Regions from separate parts of the Homo sapiens genome. Here all the other regions are linked to region 1. Evidence: promoter capture Hi-C in 16 types of primary human blood cells and fetal thymus (Javierre and others, 2016). All regions are on one chromosome and are shown on one strand. The core of a region is centred on a gene start or on the middle of the fragment in contact, and the rest is flanking DNA. Distances in the headings are between cores, read along the strand shown. Region 1 holds the start of TBC1D15 (TBC1 domain family member 15). Region 2 holds the start of CAND1 (cullin associated and neddylation dissociated 1). Region 3 holds the start of OSBPL8 (oxysterol binding protein like 8). Region 4 holds the start of ZDHHC17 (zDHHC palmitoyltransferase 17). Region 5 overlaps GLIPR1 (GLI pathogenesis related 1). Region 6 overlaps NAP1L1 (nucleosome assembly protein 1 like 1).

Evidence for each region. The method cuts DNA at HindIII sites, captures the fragments that hold promoters and counts their contacts. A CHiCAGO score of 5 or more calls a contact.
Region 2: the fragment with the promoter of CAND1 here is called in contact with the fragment with the promoter of TBC1D15 in region 1 in 2 of 17 cell types (total CD4 T cells and monocytes); the score reaches 9.2 in total CD4 T cells.
Region 3: the fragment with the promoter of OSBPL8 here is called in contact with the fragment with the promoter of TBC1D15 in region 1 in 1 of 17 cell types (activated CD4 T cells); the score reaches 6.5 in activated CD4 T cells.
Region 4: a contact is called between the fragment with the promoter of ZDHHC17 here and the fragment with the promoter of TBC1D15 in region 1, in 5 of 17 cell types (total B cells, naive CD4 T cells, naive CD8 T cells and 2 more). The highest score is 12.7, in total B cells.
Region 5: a fragment that was not itself captured here is called in contact with the fragment with the promoter of TBC1D15 in region 1 in 1 of 17 cell types (activated CD4 T cells); the score reaches 6.6 in activated CD4 T cells.
Region 6: a contact is called between a fragment that was not itself captured here and the fragment with the promoter of TBC1D15 in region 1, in 2 of 17 cell types (non-activated CD4 T cells and total CD4 T cells). The highest score is 6.5, in non-activated CD4 T cells.

Annotation. Positions count from the first base shown.
Region 1 is chr12:71,838,288-71,842,034 of GRCh38, forward strand. TBC1D15 (TBC1 domain family member 15) reads left to right here and starts at 1,472. Exons shown (of 17, transcript NM_001146213.3): 1 at 1,472-1,524. The coding sequence starts at 1,495. The HindIII fragment of the contact is 6,842 bases long and covers 1-3,747 here.
Region 2 is chr12:67,267,325-67,270,735 of GRCh38, forward strand. CAND1 (cullin associated and neddylation dissociated 1) reads left to right here and starts at 2,034. Exons shown (of 15, transcript NM_018448.5): 1 at 2,034-2,461. The coding sequence starts at 2,394. RefSeq lists enhancers at 1,170-1,469, 1,610-1,869, 2,149-2,800. The HindIII fragment of the contact is 8,089 bases long and covers 1-3,263 here.
Region 3 is chr12:76,558,467-76,562,214 of GRCh38, forward strand. It overlaps OSBPL8 (oxysterol binding protein like 8), which reads right to left and starts at 1,305. Exons shown (of 24, transcript NM_020841.5): 1 at 931-1,305. LOC105369850 (a long non-coding RNA gene) reads left to right here and starts at 1,436. Exons shown (of 4, transcript NR_188081.1): 1 at 1,436-1,767. RefSeq lists an enhancer at 226-535 and a silencer at 946-1,135. The HindIII fragment of the contact is 3,809 bases long and covers 1-1,703 here.
Region 4 is chr12:76,762,563-76,766,033 of GRCh38, forward strand. It overlaps ZDHHC17 (zDHHC palmitoyltransferase 17), which reads left to right and starts at 1,553. Exons shown (of 17, transcript NM_015336.4): 1 at 1,553-1,767. The coding sequence starts at 1,675. RefSeq lists enhancers at 1,051-1,150, 1,447-1,741, 1,717-2,559, 1,751-1,900 and a silencer at 1,291-1,700. The HindIII fragment of the contact is 3,524 bases long and covers 219-3,471 here.
Region 5 is chr12:75,493,997-75,497,704 of GRCh38, forward strand. GLIPR1 (GLI pathogenesis related 1) reads left to right here. Exons shown (of 6, transcript NM_006851.3): 4 at 1,581-1,666. KRR1 (KRR1 small subunit processome component) reads right to left here. Exons shown (of 10, transcript NM_007043.7): 10 at 1-3,708. Among named protein-coding and RNA genes, the nearest start is that of GLIPR1-AS1, 6.0 kb to the left of the region's middle. The HindIII fragment of the contact is 4,702 bases long and covers 1-3,654 here.
Region 6 is chr12:76,078,480-76,082,278 of GRCh38, forward strand. The region is part of intron 1 of NAP1L1 (nucleosome assembly protein 1 like 1); the gene reads right to left. Among named protein-coding and RNA genes, the nearest start is that of NAP1L1, 4.3 kb to the right of the region's middle. The HindIII fragment of the contact is 4,283 bases long and covers 1-3,799 here.

The DNA of each region.
Region 1 (3,747 bases), core at 222-2,721:
GGTCTTGGTCATGGTTGGAATCTCAGATACCTAGCACGCAATCTCCCTAATATGCTACGCATTCATTCCCACCTAAGGTTCCACCACTTTCCTCACCTATTAGGTTCCTGGTAGTCACATAACCGGCAACTCTCCTTTTCTGTCGTTCAGCTAGTTGCCACCTACCTCAACCAAACTCAAAAGCCTCTAACCCCTCTCCACTGTGTGAAGACGGAAGTACCTCAATGGACACAAGTGTTTTTGGTGAAAGGGACTTTTTATTCTGCCCCGGAGCTAGGGAAATCCCAGATCTGTGCCAGAGTTATCAAGGGGGTAGTATATAATCATTCTCTGCATTCTTTTACAGCACTGAGAACAAGTAAAATTCTTACCTTAGTATCTTTACAAATCATTTTACCACACATGTATTGTCGTATGAAATCCCTACAACCACTCCATGCAGGAGTAATTCCCAGTTTACATCCTGAAGCTCTGATAAATTTAGAAACCTGCTTTAAGTCACAGAGCTAATAAGTAATGTGTAGGTGCTATAAACTATGTGCCTTGGGCTCTGCAGCTATGAGGGCGTGGTATTATCACAGTTCCTATCGAAATACCTTGCTGGAGGTCATGTGTGAGTGGCAGTGACCAGACAAATAGAGAAACCTCATATACAGAGGGGAAAAGTCTCCATGTATAGTGCCTGGGATATCTCCATGTTAGTGCTGCTCTTTCTTGGATCTTCACCGCAACGCCACTATCTTGATTTTACTATAAGAAACTGAGGTTTCGAGTGCACTGGTGATTTGCCTACTGCCACAAAACCAGGCTAATGGGCTGGGCGCGGTGGCTCAAGCCTGTAATCCCAGCTCTCTGGGCAAAGGCTGAAGCGGACGGATCACCTGAAGTCAGGAGTTCGAGACCAGCCTGGGCAACATTGGCGAAATCTCGTCTCTAATAAAAATTTAAAAATTAGCTGGGCGTTTGACGCGCGCCTGTAATCCCAGCTACCCGGGAGGCTGAGGCTTGAGAATCGCTTGAACCGAGTGGCGGAGGCTGCAATGAGCCGAGATCGCGCCACTGCACTCCAGCCTGAGCGACAGAGCGAGACTCCTTTTCTACAACAACAACAAAAAACCAGGACAAATCTTGCTGGCTTCCAGTATGGTATTCGTTTCATCTCACCAAACTGGCGTGGCCTGCGCTAGCTTCAGAGTCTCGACAAACTCCAATACAAGTAAGGTACACATTATTTTAGCAGTCTTCCTTGGGGAGGACGTGGGGCAAGCACAAGCGTAGCGTTAGGCCTGAGACTCCACCCCAGCCGTCTCTGAGCCCAGTTCAGCACGCACGCGTCAGGCGGCTTTTTTCCGCCCGGCTCCTTTCCTCCACTCCCTTCCCGCCACTCCCCGCCCTTTTCCCGCCCGGATGTTATTCTAGTTTTGCCGGATGTTGTTGTATGTCCGAGAGACACGTGAGGTTCTGCTACGTCATTACCAGGCACGCGCAGGAAACATGGCGGCGGCGGGTGTTGTGAGCGGGAAGGTAGGTAACGGCCTCCAGGAAGACCTCGGCTTTTCTCTGGGACGGGGATGCTTTTGCTCCCTGGCAGCTGGTTGGGGGAGGGACACGAGGGACTTTCTGTGTCCGGACAACCCGTGGCGTCTGTAGGAGAAGACTGGGTGGTACCAGCTGGTTTCCCGAGAATGCCAGTTCAGCCGCGGAGTTATAGAGCCGGCTACTGCTCCAAGGCCAGCTAGGCCTCGGCGCTCTTCTGCCCCAGAGCAGAGAGGCTTTTATTCGTATTACCTTTACTAAGGGACAGGTGGCTCTCTAGTTCCTTTTTTCCCCCGATTCACTGTTTCTTGACTCTAGTTCTTTATGTCTACTCTTCTGACTCCAGCGTCTTTTCTCTCTTTGAAGCGTTAACCCGACTTGCCTCTGTCTTCTTTGCTACAGTTTGGTGAAGATGTTTATGCTTCCTTCGGGAGGAGCTGAATAGATGCTAGGCAGCTAGCTGTGCGCTTAGAAGAAACGAGTGTATTGGGTCTGTTTTTACCAAGCTGCTGAGTTGGTTGGTGGTTGTGAGCAGCAGGACGTGTTTCCTGAGAGAAATGGAGATTTACACCATCCTGTGCTTGTCTAGGAAGGCGTCCAAATATTTATTTCCTAGGCATTTCAGTAGGAGTATTGGTCATGCTGGTTTACGGAGGTGGTCAGTGACACGCCTAATTTCGTTGGAAACTAGAATTACGTGCGGAGATTTCGTCGAATAGTGCCTATTCGCGTTCCGAGGGCACATCTTATGCATAGTTAGGGCTATCAGCTTTATGATATGCCACCGATAGTATTTCCCAGTGCAGGAGTATTTCATAAACAGCTGGAATCAACTGAAGTGACTCATCGAACACTAATGGTTGTTTACTCATTGCAGATAGCGTCCTCTGTTCCTTGAGTTTCACTCATGTCTCCCTGTTGCTTTCCCTACCCCATTTTGAATTATTTGACAGCGTTTGTGGTTTGGTGTTTGGAGTATTAGACTAGGCGGCTGAATGACAAATATGGGCTTGGTTTTGCTGTTAATCTGAAGTATGACCTTGGAAAATTGGGCAATTGTGACTTTTGTCTTTTCGCGTTCTTTATCTGTAGAATGGAGGAGATGCCAATCATTATTTCTTGTATTGGAGTTGTTAGGGTTATATAAATTTTTTTTTAAAAAAACATAAAATTACACACTTGTACCTACTGGCTCTTTTAAAGGATAGGTGGGCATCCTTTTTTGGATTATTCGTGCTCCTTGGTTGTCTTGTCAGTTTTTTTCTTTTTATATTCAGGGTGGATGCTGATATACTGCTTGACTTACTGCGTATTTGAAGATTATCCTGTTTGATTTTCCATCTAAACTGATCCAGGCTGGGACTTTTCAAGAGGGGATCCCTTCCGTTTAAACATCTCCCTCTTTCAGGTTTGGATTGATTTTGAAAGAATCCTTGAGGCAATGAAGCAGAGTTGTGAAATGAAAAACATTTTTCACTCTTTGCAGCCACTACCTTTCATAGTCTGACTTCTTAAAGTGAGACTTATATTTAGTAATTCTGCTTCATAACCTCATTTATTCTCATTCACTGCAAATTCACATCTATTGCCATCACTCCACTGAAACTAGTTTTCCATGCCAAAAGCTGCTCCTCTCCCAAGTAATACTATCATGACCAACAAAACCCACTTGTTCTTCTCTCAGTAAGTTCAGATCTGGTTTAATGGCATCATCTTTCACCTGGTTGCATGTTAAACATACTTGGAGGCATTCATTCCTATAACACTCTCTAATCAATAACCATGTCCTACCAGTTTTACCTTAAGAGGTTTCTTAAATTTACTGCATCTTCTTTACTATCAGCGCATAGTTCAGGCTTTTAGTCTGCTTCTATTCTTGATTTCTTGGCTGATTTTACTCCTTTTCTACAGTCTCTGCCCTTAATCTTCTCTACACCACCACTGGAGTTATTTTTCTAATGCGCAAACCTGATAATCTCTTGATTTAAAAAGCAAATGAAAACTCTTCACTTTTTTATCGTCAGCATAATAATAATAATAATGAAAGCTGGTTAATGTAACATAAAAAGACATGATACCTTTATGCTTCCCTACTTCCTAATCTTTTTTCTTTAGGAAAGGGGATGGGGAGAAAATGTGTGTGTGTGTTTATTTATTCATCTCCCCTCTCCCTTCAAGTTTTAGCTAAGAGTTCTAGTTTAGAAATCCAGG
Region 2 (3,411 bases), core at 784-3,283, 4.6 Mb before region 1:
ATTTGCTTTCTGAGTGGACACAGGCTAAAAGAAAGTATTATTGATAATACCAAATGACTGAGGCCTTGAGGTCCACACATACAAAAAAAGACCTGCTTCTTTGTGTGTGTGTGTGTGTGTGTGTGTTTTACATTAAATATGGTGGAAAGGCTATTCAGAGCAAAAGGCAATTAATTGTGGCTGAAGCACTAAGGACAGTTTGATGAAAGATATATTAATCATGGCAGATTGGTAAAATGAAATATGGCATTACTGGGGAGAAAAAATATCATATATTACGTATATATTATTATTATCATTTTAAGACGTTGTCTCACTCTGTCGCCCAGGCTGGAGTGCAGTGGCACGATCTCGGCTCACTGCAACCTCCGCCTCCTGGGTTCAAGCAATTTTTCTACGTCAGCCTCCCGAGTAGCTGTGACTACAGGCGCGCCACCATGCCCAGCTAATTTTTGTATTTTTAGTAGAGATGGGGTTTCACCATATTGGCCAGGCTGGTCTCGAACTCCTGATGCCCTGATCTGCCCGCCTCGGCCTCCCAAAGTGGTGGGGTTACAGGCATGAGCCACCGCACCCGGCCTTTATATTACATACATTCAAGTAGAAGGATACATGAGAGCAGATCAGAGGTATGTGTGAAATTTAAACACATATTATGAGGCTAAACCAAGTTTCATCTGTTTTATTAACTCCTATTGCCTGACTTTGAAGTACTCAGTAATAGTTGATGAATACAGAAAACAATGGTAAAGGTCAGGTAGATTTGATCGGATTTGAGTTATGTGTTAGTAGAGAGCTATTTAAAGGTTTGTTGTTGTTTTTAACAGGAGTATCAAGTGAGATTGATTTTTCATCTCTTCACCAGGCTCTCTGTTCTTTTAGAAAGGCCTGTCAGCTAGCTCCATCCCTAACACTTTCAGGGATGTTGACCCCTAGCTGGCAAAACTTGTGTTTAAAATCCCAAATATTAAGCAGATGAAAAACTTGGATACTAAATACTTTCATAACTCATCTCCACGAATTTGTACGTCTGAGGGAGCAATACACAGCTGCAGGTCCATCAAGGCCACAAAAGCTAACTACAGAGATAGTCTTTTAGCTATTTTGAAATCAGTAGGGCCTGACTACAGCCATCTGTCGCATACCCATTACTCTTACTAAGGTCCTGCTGGCGTCAGAGAGGTGGTTCTACGATGCACGGTAGGAGTGTGTCTGGCCAGAGAAGTGGGGAGGCTCAGCTGCCTTGGGAGGTGCAAGTAGTAGCGCTAGGAAGCTGCTGCTAGGCCTCTGGCAAGAACACCAACTGATCCGCAATGCGCCTGGCCAAACTGCAGCAGCCTGCTCTGCAAATACTGCATAACAGAAAAAGCCTGTATTGGAGAATATAAGAATCCGCGGCAGAAACGGAGTGCGCGACGATTCTAAGGTTTTTACCCAGCACGGCTCCCCCATCAGACTGCAAATCCCAGCATTCACTCCTTCCACGGGAGCCAATGAGGAAGCTACTAGTTCCCGCAGCCAATCACATTCTGAGCCAGTGTATCACCCGACTGAATTCTGGGATTTGTGGTTTTTACGTGGCAACATTACACCACGGTGGCTACGGCAATGCAGGCCACGCGTCTGATCCCAAACGACACCTCCCTGTTATAAATTCTTATGTTGGTTCCGCAAGCTAACTCCTTAACTGTCGTTACTCCCAGGCTTCCTCCTTCTCAAAGCTCGTAATCTTTTTCTCTTAATGTCATTAAACAATCAAGTTATTTTCAGATTAAGGCCCACTTGCTCCACTCGTCCCCTGTCCCTTAACCGTCGCTTTAGAGTCTCGCGAGAACAGCCCCTTTTTTTTGTGTTGTCATGCCTCCAAAAGGCGGGTCACATGAAAACTGACACAGGCTTCAGCCAACCGAATTGTTTTTTAACTCTCTTCTCCACAGCGTGCGTGGGGAGGCCTCCGTGAACTCTGACCTTAGCTTTCCGTAGCGCCCGCGTCTGCCGCCCCCGCCCCCGGAGCGAAGGAGGCGGGCTTTGGCCTTTTGCCCTAGGGAGCGAGTGCGGAGCGAGTGGGAGCGAGACGGCCCTGAGTGGAAGTGTCTGGCTCCCCGTAGAGGCCCTTCTGTACGCCCCGCCGCCCATGAGCTCGTTCTCACGCGAACAGCGCCGTCGTTAGGCTGGCTCTGTAGCCTCGGCTTACCCCGGGACAGGCCCACGCCTCGCCAGGGAGGGGGCAGCCCGTCGAGGCGCCTCCCTAGTCAGCGTCGGCGTCGCGCTGCGACCCTGGAAGCGGGAGCCGCCGCGAGCGAGAGGAGGAGCTCCAGTGGCGGCGGCGGCGGCGGCAGCGGCAGCGGGCAGCAGCTCCAGCAGCGCCAGCAGGCGGGATCGAGGCCGTCAACATGGCGAGCGCCTCGTACCACATTTCCAATTTGCTGGAAAAAATGACATCCAGCGACAAGGACTTTAGGTGAGGCCGAGATCCGACCCTCACCCCACCTCGGGGTTCTCGCAGCCGCGGCCCTGGCCGTCACGCAGGCCTTGCCCCACCCCTTCGGCCGTAGCCGGTAGCTTCTCTGCCCCGAAGTCTCCAGCCCACCGGTCCGCTGGCCTCCCGATCCCTGCGGAGCCCCTTTCCTCTCCCCTCTTGCAACCCCCTCCCCCCATTCTTTCTCCTAGGCAGTTGCCCGCCGCGGTCTCTAGGCCCCGTTTGCTTGTCTCAGCGCCCCCACATCCTTCCCTGCCCCACCAGGAGGCGATTCTTGCGTCTCAGGTAGCGCGAAGGGGCTAAACCACCCACCATTGTGGAGAAGGGAGTTGCTCTAGGCCGGGAGACCGGGCGCCGGGCCTATTCGCTTGCCATCCTGCGGCGCTAGGCCGCCTTGCTCGCTGGGGCCCAAGCTGCTGCCCACTCGGGGACCCGGCAGCCTCCTCTCTGCCCGCAGGTGCGCGTGGGCCTTGCTGCATTCAGGTGGAATGATGAACTTTTGCGCTCTTGGCTGATACATAGTTCTTTTGTGGATTATTAATTTTCGTGAAGGTGGGAAGAAGGGGGAGGGGAGCCAGGATGGAGGAAACTTCGCTCATAGGGTTTTCCCGCCAGCATCACTGTCAGTTCCTCTTGTCAGGTAAAACCAACTTAGGAACTCGGGGTTTCAGTCTCATGTCCTCATATCCAAAATCACTGCCAAAGGGGTGGATTGCTGGATCTTAATCATAGCAGACGGATCTTCAAAAGGAAGAGATGTTTAATACGGACCTGGTGAATATGAAGCTTTATTACAGCAGTTCTGTTCAGGAGATCGGTACTGTTGGTTCCAAAGTGTTGTAATATGCATAGTGAAGATTTGTTATATTTTTACAGGTTATCTTTGTTTTTATTTTTCCTTGCACGCTTCGGTGATTGTTGCATTCTTTCCC
Region 3 (3,748 bases), core at 55-2,554, 4.7 Mb after region 1:
CATGCAGGAGACACTGTATTACTACTCAGACGTCATTTAAGTCTTCTAGCAGCAGAAAGGCAAAAACATCATTAAATTTTTTATTTAATGCATATATACTTACATTATCAGTTAAAGTTTACCCATCTGTTTACGTTGTCCAAGTTACCTATTATTTCAGAAAGCATTTAAATAAAATGAAATTAGGTTACGTTCTGCAACGCAGATGTGTCTCATAAAGAAGAGTGTTAAATGACTTTTGTGAATGGAAAATCTGCATATACTGTTGCTTCGCCTCAGCCAGTCTTGAGTGGGTGGTTCAATGAACCTAAAGCATGCTGCCTGTGAAGCTCCTTGGAACCTGATTCCACTCTTGAGAGAGGGCTTAGAAACAAACATTAAATTTAAAAGCACAGCAAAGGCTTGGCTTTCCTCCTACGTTACAAGAAGGCCGGGAGAACTGAGGCTTAGAGGAACAACACCGTGTCGCTTGGCTCTGCAAAGGCGGGTGCGGTCTGCGGTGCGCGGCACAGCCTTCTCTGGGGCTGTCACAGGAAAGAAGGAGCCTCGCCTTAACCGCACCGAGCGACAAAGCGCCAGCTCTCCTGGGCGCGGGGGCTCCCAACGAGGCCCATGCCATCAACCTATCAAACTTCAGGAGGGACAGACACCCGGGGCGGTCGAAATGCTCCAACAGCCTCCCACCCCCGTTCCCCTGCCGCGGCTTTTGTAAGGCTGCAGATGCACCTACTGTGGGCCCCTAAACACTCCACCCTGCCAGCCTTTCCAATCCCCCTACTCCAAAAGGGAACAAAGGAGCCAAAGAACTCCTCGGCGGGGGTGGCCAGGAGTCCCCGACAGCCCGAGCTCAGAACGTGGCAATAAGGGTGCGCAGTCGCCCTGAGGGGTGCGAACCCAGCACCCCAACCTCAGGAATGGAGCAACACTCACCCGTGCGGAGCTCCCAGGGAGGCGGGACGCAAGGAGCCGGTTCCTCCGAGGTCGCCGCGGCGCCGGGGTCCGAGGCCCCGTAAGCGTCTAGTCAGACCCCAACTTCTCTCGGCCGCTGTCGTCGGCGGCAGCTGGGGCGCGAGCCTGGACGAAGGGCGCTGCCCAGCGGCCGCGGAGGCACTGCCGGCTCAGCCCCCGAGCGGGGCGGGAACTTTCGGCCCCGAGGTCCACCAGCCCGGGCGGACCCCCACCTTCCCTCAGTCGGCTTGCTACCGGCAGCGGCTACTGCGGCGTCCAAAGCTAACACTACAGCCGCCGCCTGGCCAGGAGCGCGTCGCGGCCTAATGTTGTCATCCGCCGCGTCGCCGCCTTTCTGGGCACCCAGAACCGCGAAGATCCTTCACATTCTAGTGCCCTCCCCCTGCCCCGCCCGCCCCCCGGATCACGGGCTTCGGCCACGCCCTCTTCCCGTCACGTGACGGTGCGCGGAGGCGGTGGTGGAGTTGCTTCCCCTGCTAGGCGGGCTCGAACCGGGCGGGAGTCACTGTCCACCTTGCTTCGCCAGGGTGTTATCGCCAGCCAGTCCCCTTCCGCATGCCCAAGGGCAGCCTCAGGAAGCGAGCCCACCACCGTCGGCCCAGCGCCTGTTGATCGGCCAGGCCTTCTGGGCCGGTCATACTGGGCCCTTCCTAACCTGAGGAGATTGCACAGTAGGGCTCCCTGGTCTGGTCAGGGCTCAGTTAGGACCCCTCTCCAGCCTTAGGCTTGGTGAAAGCTTTAGCGAAACAGAAAAAAGAACGCATCGTGGTGTAGAGTGTATGGCCTAAGAAGCATTCGGTAACTAAACTACTTGTTCCTATTTCTAGTGGCACATTAACCGTGGCATTTAATTTACTGCTTTCCTCATTAGAGGTTTTTTTTTTTTTGAGGAAACGGTGTATTTCAATCATGCTGGGATGAAAACAGCCTAGCAAACTTATTTTTGTTCCTTGTTATGTTCAGGATCCTGCTGCCAGTTTTACAGTCATTAAGTTTTACAGTGTGTTAGGTTGGTGACAGTTTAAACGGGTACGCAGGAATTTGACAGTTTGTTCCATTTTTTAAAATAAAGCCTAATTCTTGATTTTTTTTCTAATGCCTTAATTTTTTTTTCCTAATTCCTTAACTCTAGGACTTAACCTTTTGCTTTCTTTTTTAGCCATGATCCGAAGAACCCTCTAGCCGCCTAATGAAATCCTAACTATACAGAAGTAAGGGAGGTAGAATAAAGATCATACTCAAACCCTGATCACAATGAAGGCAAATGAGAAAGCTTTCTGTAATAATTAAATTGGGGTCATAACTCATTTTCCCTTGTAGCCCAGAACTAAGGATTTTTTTCTTAAGCTATTCTCATCTCATTACATTTTCTTAACAAGAAATCAGAAGGCATTCTGATAAGCTGGATACATTGAAATGAATAAGCAATAGAGTTTGGCCTATATAATTATTATTAATATATTTCATAGCAGCTCTAAAAAAATCATAGACTTACATTGTTTTATGTTACCCAAGAAAGAAAACAAAGGCTGCCAATGAAACTATGCCATACCGCTGATATGTAAGGCACCTTTAAGCCACATCTTTTTCCTTTTTTTTTTGAGACAGGGTCTCACTCTGTCTCCCAGACTGGAGTGCAGAGGCGCAATCTCGGCCCACTGCAATTTCCGCCTCCCGGTTCAAGCGATTCTCCTCCCTTAGCCTCCCAAGGAGCTGAGATTACAGGCATGCGCCACCATGCCCAGCTAATTTTTGTATTTTTAGTAGAGAGGAGGTTTCACCATTTTGGCAAGGCTGGTGTTGAACTCGTGACCTCAAATGATTCACCCGCCTCGACCTCCCAAAATGCTGGGATTACAGGCATGAGCCACCGCGCCCGGCCTGAGACACATCTTGAATTCAGAGATGTAAACATGTCAGAAACAACGAGTCTTAGAATCTCTGAGATATTGTCATGAACTGGGAAACAACGAGTCTTAGAATCTCTGAGATATTGTCATGAACTGGGAAACAACGAGTCTTAGAATCTCTGAGATATTGTCATGAACTGGTGTTCCAAAGAGGAAAAGATTCTACCAGGTTCTGTTCTGAAGCCTGAGAGACTGTAGTACAAATAAATGTGAAGGAAGTTTATTATTCTGTGACATTATTTCAGCAAAGCTAGTAACTTTGGAGTTTGTTAACAGATTAACTTGTCTCCTGTTTTCTAGAGGCATGTTTTTCAACCTGCAACTCAAAAATCAATTTCATTTTTATATGAAATAGGCTAGGATGTAATACAATATAAAATACCAGAGTGCATAATGTCTAGTAAGGGCAAAAATTGCTTCCTGAAACTTTTTGTTTCAAATATGGTGGAAGGTGAGAGTATGTCCTATGTTGTGATTTAAACAATTTCTTACTGTGAGTTGCAATCAAATAGATTTGGAAAAGAATGTTCCTAGAGCATAGATAATATGCAAAATACACCATCTGGACCCCGTTTTTCTGGTACTTTTATTTTACTTTGGAAACTGAGACTAAAGATTAGAAAAAGGTGGCAAATTGCCTTGCCTAATTCTCTTCTGCCTCAGCCCCAATTTCATACATTGGCTTTTGAAAATTTGATCATTTGTTGGAAAAAGCAATGTACTGGAAGCAAGGAAGCCTAGGTTACAGACTTAGCTAATGAGATGTATGACTAGATAAATTACTCCCTGCATTTCAAGTTCCAATCAAGTAGGACCACATGCTGTTTGAGAAATGATACTAAACCACCTTTTTTTTTTCCCGGTGGATG
Region 4 (3,471 bases), core at 303-2,802, 4.9 Mb after region 1:
GTTGCTACTTTATTACTGGAGGTACCTAATTACTAAATTGCTGTATCCTCAAGACAGCATCCAATCCCTCGTAAATCCCAGCTTTTCTTCATGCCGCCACGGAAACGGCGTCCCATGCAGAACTGATTCTGGCTCTCCTTAGACCCTCCTCAGACTCCTTTGGCGGGAAACTAATCTTACAAAGGAGGCTTCCTCTTTCCTTTTCCAGTGGCATTCCAAGCTTCCTTTGGAGTGCCCTCCCTCCTGATTTACAAATTGGCCTGACGTTATCGGAGTACAGGCTTTTTCCTGGTGGTTTCTGGCCTAACAGGAGACAGATTAGTAAGTACCAGGATCTCTAATAGGTCAACTTTCATGATCTCTGCTAAATTCTCAGCTGTTTAGACTTACAATTTTTAACAGCTAAAAGGAAAGACAAATGCTATCTAAAACTGTCCCATCAGCCCATTTACAGGGAGCACCTCCCCCATACCGCCCTAAAATCCTTTAAAAAATGGCTTTAGTCATTTTATCTGCCTTGCATTTAAGCGAATTCAGTTTAAGTGGCTTCAGTTCTGAATTCCTGGATTATATCGAAATGTTGCAGATGGCGGTGTGTGGGCTTTGAGCTCGTAAATTTTTTGTGTGGTACTAATTCAAGACGATTGAGAGCAGGTTGGGATCATTTTAAAAAGAGTTCTCGGCAGGGTGTGGTGACTCAAGCCTGTAATCCCAGCACTTTGGGAGGCCGAGGCGGGCGGATCGCTTAAGGTCAGGAGTTCGAGACTAGCCTGGCCAACATGGTGAAAACCCGTCTCTACTAAAAATACAAAAATTAGCCGGGCGTGGTGGCGTGCACCTGTAATTCCAGCTACTCGGGAGGCTGAGGCAGGAGAATCGCTTGAACCGGGAGGCAGAGGTTGCAGTGAGCTGAGATCGCGCCATTGCACTCCCGCCTGGGCGGCAAGAGCAAAACTCTGTCTCATTAAAAAAAAAAAAAAAAAAAAAAAAAAAAAAAAAAGGGTTCTCTAGTAGGAAGTCCCGAGTTGTATCCATGTTTTTCCGGGCGTCCCCCGGAGGGACAGGTTGCGGGTGACCTTTTCAAGTGTGGAGGAAAGGGAAGCTGCTTTTGTCTTCAGGAATGATGCAGGTCTCGACTCAAGCCTGACGGGCCCAAACCTCCCTGGAGCTGGCTGACGACTCTGCCCGAGTTCCTGAAGAGGGGTCCCGGGGGTCCCGGAGCGGAAGTGGGAGCGCGTGGGCGTGGGCTCCTCGGCTGCCTGGGGCTCCAGACTTGTGCTGCGTGCGGCTCCGGAGCTCTGTTCTCGCTCCTGAGCAGCTGCTAGGTTTCCCAAGCGACTGTCTCAACCGCCCGGCCGCCTCCCCCGGGCAGCCAGAGCTTCACATCTACCTCCAGCCGGGACCCGCCCCCGAGCCGCGGGGCCCACGCCCAGAGCCCTCCGCCGTCCCCAGCGCAGTGCAGCAGAGCGCGATCCAGTCTGGGGCCGGGCCGCGCTTCCGCGCACGCGCGGAGAAACCCGCGCCCTCCGAGGGGGGAGGGGACAGAGGGGGCGTCACGGGGGCAGGAGAAGAAGGAGGAGGAGGCCCGCGTCGCCTCCGGCGGGGCTCGCGCTCGCCCCGCGCTCGCCCTCCGCCTCGCCCGAGCCCCGGGAGGGTGAAACGCTTTCTCCCAGCATGCAGCGGGAGGAGGGATTTAACACCAAGATGGCGGACGGCCCGGATGAGTACGATACCGAAGCGGGCTGTGTGCCCCTTCTCCACCCAGAGGTGAGGAACCGTGCTGAGTGGATTCCTTGCCCTGCGGCCCTCCAGCCTTTCTTCCCCGGACTCGCCGAGGGCGGCGGCCGACGTGTGTGGGGTAGTGGGACGTGCCGAAGTTGGGGAGGGTGGGGAGGCGAATCCAGGCCTGAGCGCGGCTGCGAGCGGATAACGGGGGAGGAGATAGCGGGGCGGGCCCGACCGGGGCGGGCTCTGGGACGCAGTCCCTGGCTGTGCCTGGAGGACAGAGGTGGAGGTGTTGATGGTTCTGCTGTGTCGCCGCGCTGCGTTTGAGAGCAGAGGCGGAGGGGCCTGGTGTGGTTTTTGAACCGCAGCTTAGACCCTAGTCTTGCTCCAAGCCTCTTGGGGCCAGGTGGAAGCGCGTCTGGTTTTGATTTCTTTTTCCTTCGCCAGGGTGAATGACGGTATCTATTGCTTCCTTTTAGTCCACTGTGAGGGGACAGTTTCATGGGCATAGTGATGTCCTTCCAGGTAATGCCATGGGTAGCACCTCGGGCACCTTGTGTCGGGCGTCCTTTTTTGAGCATTTGTCCTTAAGCGATTAAGAAGAGAGGTAAAAACTTTTGGGAATAGACTTACACTCACATTAGCTTGTCAAAGTACCGTTTTTCTAGGAGCTAGGGGTGGACAGTGCAACACGTTTCCCATCACAACATGAGTGTCTTCCCATGTAAGTAAACAGTGCCCCGCTCCACAGTCAGTCAGTCTGTGCTTGTTTACCTCCGAGTTTGTAGCTGAGCTAGTGCTAGTTAAGGCTTGGAAGCAATTCTTGATGCATTCTGATTTTTAGTGATCCACAGTGATGTCTGTATGCGGCAGCGGCACAGTTTGCTGAAGAACTCGGGTAGTTTTCATGAGGTTAAAAGATGACAGTCGTGTTGTAGGATGAACAAACATGGAAGTCTCTACCTGGTTACTTTGCAATGGAGTGATTCTGTTTTTTTCTGGATTTGGGTTTGTACCATGCCACTAGTTTTTGTTAAAAAGTGAATAATGACAACCATCCTTTTATGTTGCATGTTAACACTCAACCACCCTCTCATTCGTCACTTTGGTTTATCAAAAACACATGGGACAGTTCCTTCGGAATATATACCTGTGCCAGTCTCAGTAGAAAAGGCTACTCTGGGTTTCTGATAAACAGAACTATACAGTAAGACTAAACACTTGTCTGACCAAAGTGGTAACATTTTCAGAACTGGCATTGTAGACATCTCTTTTGGTTCACTTAGGCCCTAACATACGTCAGGAAATAGACAAAGTAGTTTTCAGATGTTGCCTTGAAAATGTTGCTAAGTGATTTCTATTCATCTGTTCCTGTGAAAGTATTCGTGAAAGTATTTCAAACACTTAAGTGTTTATCCAGTTTATTTTTTTGAGACGGGGTTTCTCCCTGTCCCCCAGGCAGGAGTGCACTGACACGATGACAGCTCACTGCAGCCTCTACCTCCAGGGCTCAAGTGATCCTCTCCCCTCAGCCTCCTGAGTAGCTGTGACCACAGGCTCGCGCCACCATACCCGGCTGATTTTTTTATTATTTGTAGAAGAAGAGGTCTCCCTATGTTGTCTAGGCTGGTCTTGAACTCTTGAACTCAAGTGGTCCTCTCACCTTAGCTACTTAAAGTGCTGGGATTACAGGCATGAGCCACCATGCCAGGCCTATCTTACGTATTTTAGCATACTGTTCTTCAT
Region 5 (3,708 bases), core at 54-2,553, 3.7 Mb after region 1:
GAAAGACATTCCAATGATTAATGTCTATTTTGGACATCTTTTGAAATTGCTATCAGAATTTCTACTATATTACCTTTTTTCCATGGTGTAGAGTAAGCAGAGGGCTAATTAAATTTCTGAAGCAACTTAAAATTTGGAGCAAAATGAGATAAGAACATAGATTTGGGGTTGGAAATAAGGTATCGTTATAAAGTTGTGTGTCTAAGGTGAGAGTTCTCAACTTTGGAGGTAATTGTAGAGTGCTGGGGAGAGGAGGACCATAAACTTTGATTAGAAAATAGTTTTATTTTTATTTTCACTAACCTCTATTAAAAATAACATTTCCTTTCATTATGAATGAAGACAACACTCCACCATCATATTAGCAATAAACGTGACTCTGACTTAGCAGTATCATCTTTGTAAATATCAGATATTTTCATACCACATTCCACTTGCTGCAGAGAACTCAAAATATAGTTTGTGTTCATCACTGCATTGAAACTAATAGCCCCCGGTAGATCTTAATAGAGAAGCACATATTACTTTATCACAAATCTTGTTTTAAACATTTTGATAACTATTTCAATTTAATTGGTTTCCTTTATAATCCTATGTATTTTATGCATTTAACAACAAACTATGTTGAGAAAGAGCCCATAGGCCTCACCAGACTGCCAAAGGGTACGATTACACAAAAAAGTTTAGAACTTTTTCCAAAAGCAGAGTTCCAAAAAAAATTAGTGCAATGGCAGGTTCATTGAGATAAATGTGCCCCCTCTCCCCATTACTACTATGAGGATATTTATGGGGATATAAAATGCTTGGATATTATTTCACTTTCTAGTCTGTGACCTTGGTCAATTACTTATACTCTGTGACTCAGCCTCTAGCTATATAATGGGTATAAATAGACAACAGTAACTTCCTCATAGGGTTTTTGTGAAGATTATTTCATTCAAGGTTGTTTAGAACAAAGACAAGCACATGGTAGTGCTCACTAATTAGCAGCTATTATTCATATCACATCTTGTATGTGAAAACAATTTGTACTTTAGAAATTCCCCCATACCATTATTTATTATTTTTTTGGAAGGCACCAGCCAAATGGCTCCTATCCAGTGAAAATTATGGAGGGCTGACCAACTGAGAATATTGAATGTGGGTCACCATAGCTTTTCTAAGATGGACAGTTTTTTAAATGGCAGTAATCATATAGGCCAGAGGGTAGGTAAAGAGAGGGAGCACAGCCCTGGAGTTAAATCCAGGTTTCCTCTGACTCTGAAGTGTATAAATTGTGATTAAAGGTATCTCTTACATCTTTTGTCTCATCTGTAAAACAAGAATAACTTCCTCTCAGAGCTGTCACAATTAAATGGGATGCAGATTAAAACAGGTGCATAGACACAGGTACATAGAATGAACTATGCAAATATTAGCAGCCTTCCATTTCTGCCTTCCTGTCTTCACTTCTATTACCAACTCTCTGGACCTTTGTACTTCACTCCACTATTCTTCTGGATTTAGTTAAGGATTCATAGTAAATTGCAATTTTAAAAAACCGAAAAACTTCTAATGGACATCCTTCTTCTGCTTTACAGAGGGAATTACCCAACTTGGCCATATAAGAGAGGAGCCACCTGCAGTGCCTGCCCCAATAATGACAAGTGTTTGGACAATCTCTGTGGTGAGTAAAAGGAACAATACACCAATAGAATAACATAATAGTAACATGTAACTTTCTACAGAATTAACAATGAAACCATGTTTTATCTTAACGGCTATCTTCAAGGAAACTGGCATCAAGTAGCAATTAAACCAATGGCTTACTGTTCTAGGAATACATTTAAGAGAAATTTAAATGTGAAAATCACGTTCTTTTTATTTAGTTCTAATTGGTCAAACAACAACAACAAAAAAAACTGTCAGAAACTGTAGACTAAGATTCCTAAGATTTGCTTATTTCAGCAAGATCAAAAATAAGTATAACAGGTCATCCAAACAAACAGAATTCTGTTTTCGTTTTTTTTTTTGTTTTTTTTTTTTGAGACAGAGTCTTGCTCTGTCACCCATGCTAGAGTGCAGTGGTGTGATCTCAGCTCACTGCAACCTCCATCTCACGGGTTCAGGCGATCCTCCTGCCTCAGCCTCCCAAGTAGCTGAGATTACCATGCCACCATGCCCAGCCTGGCCAACATGGCAAAAACCCCCTCTACTAAAAATACAAAAACTAGCTGGGTGTGGTGGTGGACGCCCGTAACCCCAGCTACTCAGGAGGCTGAGGCAGGACAATCACTTGAGCCCAGGAGGTGGAGGTTGCAGTGAGCAGAGATTGTACCACTGCACTCCAGCCTGGGTGACACAGTGAGGGTCTATCTCCAAAAAATGAAAATAAAATAAAGCTGCAACATGGCACTTTTTATTAGCCAGACAGCATTTAATGAAGAAGTGTAGAAGCTGCAAGCAGTTAAATTTCCAAGGATGTTTTACTAAACATCCAAGCAAAATTCTGCTTTGTGATTTTGAAATATTAGTAAGTGACCAAGAGTTTATTTCTTGTTCTTGTTCTAGACACAAACCCTTCCATCCCAGTATGTTTTTTTACCATGGTGTGAAGGGGAAACTTCAATTAAGCTGTGCAAAGCCTGTGGTACTTTCGTGTCCATATTTGTAACAAACTGAACTCAGAGCAGCCGGGCTAGAGTAGGGTGCTTAGAATAGAGGAAGGACAGAGTCGGCCAAGTTCCACTGCACGAAATTTAGTTTGGAAAAAAGTGTTCCATTGCTCATGTTTTATAAGGTCCCTTGCAGGCCTAAAATTATAAAATTCTATATATTAAACTGCTTGCTCTCCTCCTTCCCATTTAATGTTGAATACTTATCTTTACATACAGTCGTACTTTTGCAAAGTTTTCTGAGCCATTTTTCTCCCAGTCCAATCATTCTTTATTTCACTTATATCACTCTTGTGAAGAAAAGTAACATGTAGCCACAATGCAGATAATATCAAGGTATCAATGTATTCACTGAATTCTTCCTTTCACTCACTCTTCACTTCAGAACGTATATATTTCTTCCTTCCAAATTAACCAGTATACATAAGGGCTAAAACTATGGATTTCAGAACCAGTATGCCAAGTTTTGGTGCAATTTCCAGTTTGACCACTGTGACTTTGGGCAAGTTTCTGCTTCTATTTTTTTCAACGAAACAACCCAGTGAAAAAAATGTTTCCCTTTAAAAATCTAGGCAATTAGTAACACTACCACCACCACAATGACAAAAATACTTCTGGTTTTAGCTTTTGATCTTTGGTGATCTAACTTGAGATGCTCTTTAATCTTGGGGAATAACATTTAGAAGATTAAAGCTGTAGTCCAATAATGAAAACCCTTGGACTCTTGAGAAAACACATGCTAACTTGTATTTATAAGATGTGAAACTCATTACCCATTTACTTCAGATAAGTGCTCAACATCTTACAGATTGATCTTGTCACTAATTTCCTATTCTCAGAGCTAGATTTATGTAATTTGTTTTCATGTAAGTTTAGGCTTACTTGAAAGTATTCTACTCTTCGCACTAATACTGAATAAGTAAGATTTGTGACTAAAAAACTTAAGAATCACCATTTGACCTTTTATAAGGTCTGATGAAGGTAAAGGTTAGAGGATAAAAGCTTTTATTTAACAGATTCCTTCTCAGACAAATTATGGCAAGCACTGGAGCAT
Region 6 (3,799 bases), core at 824-3,323, 4.2 Mb after region 1:
TAACAGAAATCAATCCTACACAAAGACTTAAAAATTGTCAGACTATAAACAAATACATACCTACAGACATAGTAAGCCTGGTTGTCTTTGATCTAAGTTTGAAAACACACTGTCTGCAAGGAAGTCATCTATTAAAGGTGATATAACAAAATTTGGAAAACTAGAACTTCTAGAAATAAAACTAATGAATCAAACTAAATGGGCTGGCTTAAGAGTAAGATACACAGCTGAAGAGAGAATTAAGTGAGCTGAAATGAAGCCTAGAAGAAAACTTTGAAAATATGGCAGAGCCACAGAATCTAAAGGACTGAAAATACTGAAATGAAAAGACATGTTAAGATCCAATGAAGCCTAATAAAGACTTCATACAAGTTCTGGGAGCAGGAGGACAGAATATTTGAAGAAGTTAATACGCAATAATTTTCCATTTCCTTAAGTGATGAAAGACACCAATCCACAGATTCAAGTAGCCCTACAAATCAAAACCATAAAATAAAGAATCCATATATATATATACACACACACACACACACATATATTTATCCAGCTCCGGATACATCAGTAAAAAGGCAAGATAGCAAAAACAAATTCATCTCAAAAGCACACACAAAAAAGGTAGATTAACTTCAAAGGCACAAAAAGACTGACAGCTGTCTTCTCTTCAATAAGACACTAAAAGACAACAGAATCCTCAATATGTTGAAAATAACTAAGGCTCTTAAAATACTATCCCCAACCAAAACATCTTTTAAGAATGAAGGTGAGGCCATGTGCGGTAGCTCACGTCTATAGTCTCAGCACTTTGGAAGGCTGGGGCAGGAGGATCGCTTGAGGCCAGGAGTTCAAGGCCAGCCTGGGCAACACAGATCATCTCTACAAAAAATTAACATGCCTGCTGTAGTCCTAGCTACTCGGGAGACTGAGGCAGGAAGATCACTTGAACCCAGGAGTTTGAGGTTACAGTGAGCTATGATCGTGCCACTGCACTTCAACATACCTCCTTAAAAAAAAATCTGTAATGTAAAAGACAGTTTCAGAATAAAACACTAATCAGAGTTGGTATCACGTATTAATGTCAGGAAAAAATAGACTTCAAGGAAAAACATTAAGATAAAAAGGTCACTTTATAATAAAAGGTTCATACATATATGGTGTGTATAAGATCTCAAAAGACATAACTGACCCTAAAAACATGCTTGAAGGCATTTTTTTTTTTTTTTTGGAGACAAGGCTTTGCTCTATTGCCCAGGCTATAGTGCAGTGGCGTGATCACAGCTCACTGCAGCCTTGACCTCACAGGCTCAAGTGATCCTCTCACCTCAGCCTCCTGAGTAGCTGGGACTACAGGTATGCATTCTCCACCACACTCAGCTATATTGTTTTAATTTTTTTTGTAAAGACAGGGTGTCTCACTATGTCGCCTAGACTGGTCTGGAAATTCTGGGCTCCCGCCTTGGCCTCACAAAGTGCTGTGATTGATTACAGGTGTGAGCCACCACACCTGGCCTCCTGAAAGGAAATCTTCCTTCCTAAACTGAACTAAAAACAAAATCTTCCACTGAAGAGGGGAGGCAACTGACTGAACTAATTGGATACATAGAGCTGACATAAGGCTAAGAAACCATTACCCAACTGCAGTCACATAACGTTTCAGTCAACACAGGACTGCATATACAACAGTGATCCCACAAGATTATAATGGAGCTGAAACATTCCTATTGCCTAGTAATGTCACAGCTCAATTCATTATTCATGTTTGTGGTGATGCTGGTATAAACAAACCTACTGCAGAGTCATATAAAAGTATGGCACTTACAATTATTTACAGTACATAATACTTGATAAGGACAATAAATGATTTATTGGTTTATGTATTTACTATACTATGCTTTTTGTGGTTAGAGTACACTCCAACTTATTTTTAAAAAAGTTAAAACTGCCTACAGTATTCAACATAGCAACATGCTATACAGGTTTGTAGCCTAGGAACAACAAACAGGCTATACCATATAACCCAGGTATGTACTAGGCCGTACCATCTAGGTTTGTGTAAATACATTCTATGACATTCACAAAAGGATGAAATGGCTTAATGATGCATTTCCCCCAGAACACATCCCCATCATTAACCATGCATGACTGTGTATGTAAACAAATTCTATGCTGGAAGAAGACTTCATGACCATAACTGCTATACAGCTTTTCCCTAGAGCACAGTGGGATACAAGGTGGAGTGCTTTTGAATTTCATGCTGCTATGGTTTGAGTATTTGTCCCCTCTAAAACTCAAGTTGAAATTTAATCCCCTATGTGGCAGCACTGAGAGATGGGGGTCTTTAAGAAGTGATTGGATCATGAGGGCTCCACCCTCACAAACGAATTAATCCATTCATGGATTAATGTATTTCTTTATAAATTACCCAGTTTCCCACCAGGGGAGCTGGAGAGCCAAGCTACCCAGTTAGCACACTCAGCCCCCTCCCCATGTGATACCCTGTACTGCCTTGGGAACCTTCAGAGTCTCCACAAGTAAGGTTCTCACCACATGGGTCCCCTCGATCTTGGATTTCTCAGCCTCTATAACTGCAAGAAATAAATTCTTTTTTTTTAAATAAATTACTCAGTTTCAGGTATTCTAAGCAACAGAAAATGAACTAATATTCATGCTGATTTATAGCAGAACAGTGTAAGTCAACATTCTTTCAAAACCAGGATAAAAATTATCTCATCATAAGTTATCACTGCTCACGTACGTAACCACGGACGGGTTATCTAACCACTCCACACCTATTTTTTTTCCTTGTTAAAATGTTGATGCTACCTGTCTCTAAGTAAATTAAATGAGCTAATAATACACACAGAATTTAAAACAATGCCTGAATAATCAATCAGTGTTGCCTATTACATTATTTATCCCTGTTATGCTCTTCTGTACCCTCTTTAGAAAATAATTCCAAGACTGAAATTATAACTCTAGACAGGTGTGGTGGCTCACACCCATACACTCAGCACTTTGGGAGGCCAAGGCAAAATCGCTTGAGGTGAGGCATTTAAGACCAGCCAGGGCAACACAGCAAGAGCCTGTCTCCACAAGGAAAAAATATATATAACCCTGTTTCCCAATAAAAATTAAAATGTACAAAACTTCTGAATAAGTAAAAATATATACAAATATGCAGGAAGTAAAAGGCAGAGTTGGTAACCAAAGGTATAGAAGCCATTTTCTATGGCAAGCCCACTAATGTACTCTAATGTTCTGTAGTCATTGTGCTAAACGACTTACATATGGATAGGTGTAAAGTAACAACTCTCTCCTTCTAACCCCTATTCTGCCCAAAAACTTATTTAGATGAAACTAGTTTGAAATGGAACTTAAAATCATCAAATTATAACAGGTTCCTTTGTGTAAACGCTGTATTACTCTTTGACCCCTTTACCCTTTCCTTCCTTTATAGCTCTCATCACAATTTAACATTCTACATCTAAGCAACCAATTTGCCTCTTTTGCTCATGACATAAGATACATGTCCATACAGGTGCTAGATAGTTACCCAAAGACTAAACTGAGAACACAATTACAGGTTTGATTAAACTTGAAGATCTGAATACACTGATCATTAATATTTTGATATTGATGAGTCATTCTCTCTAATCCTTTGTTTCAAATTTACAACCAAGAAGTGAATAAAATATTGTATTTTGACATCTTCAGACCTTTGAAGTCCAACAGATACTGCTTCTTTAGCCCCTTCTACAAAAAGACCCTTAGTTTTGAATATATTTTGAGAATTTAGAATCAA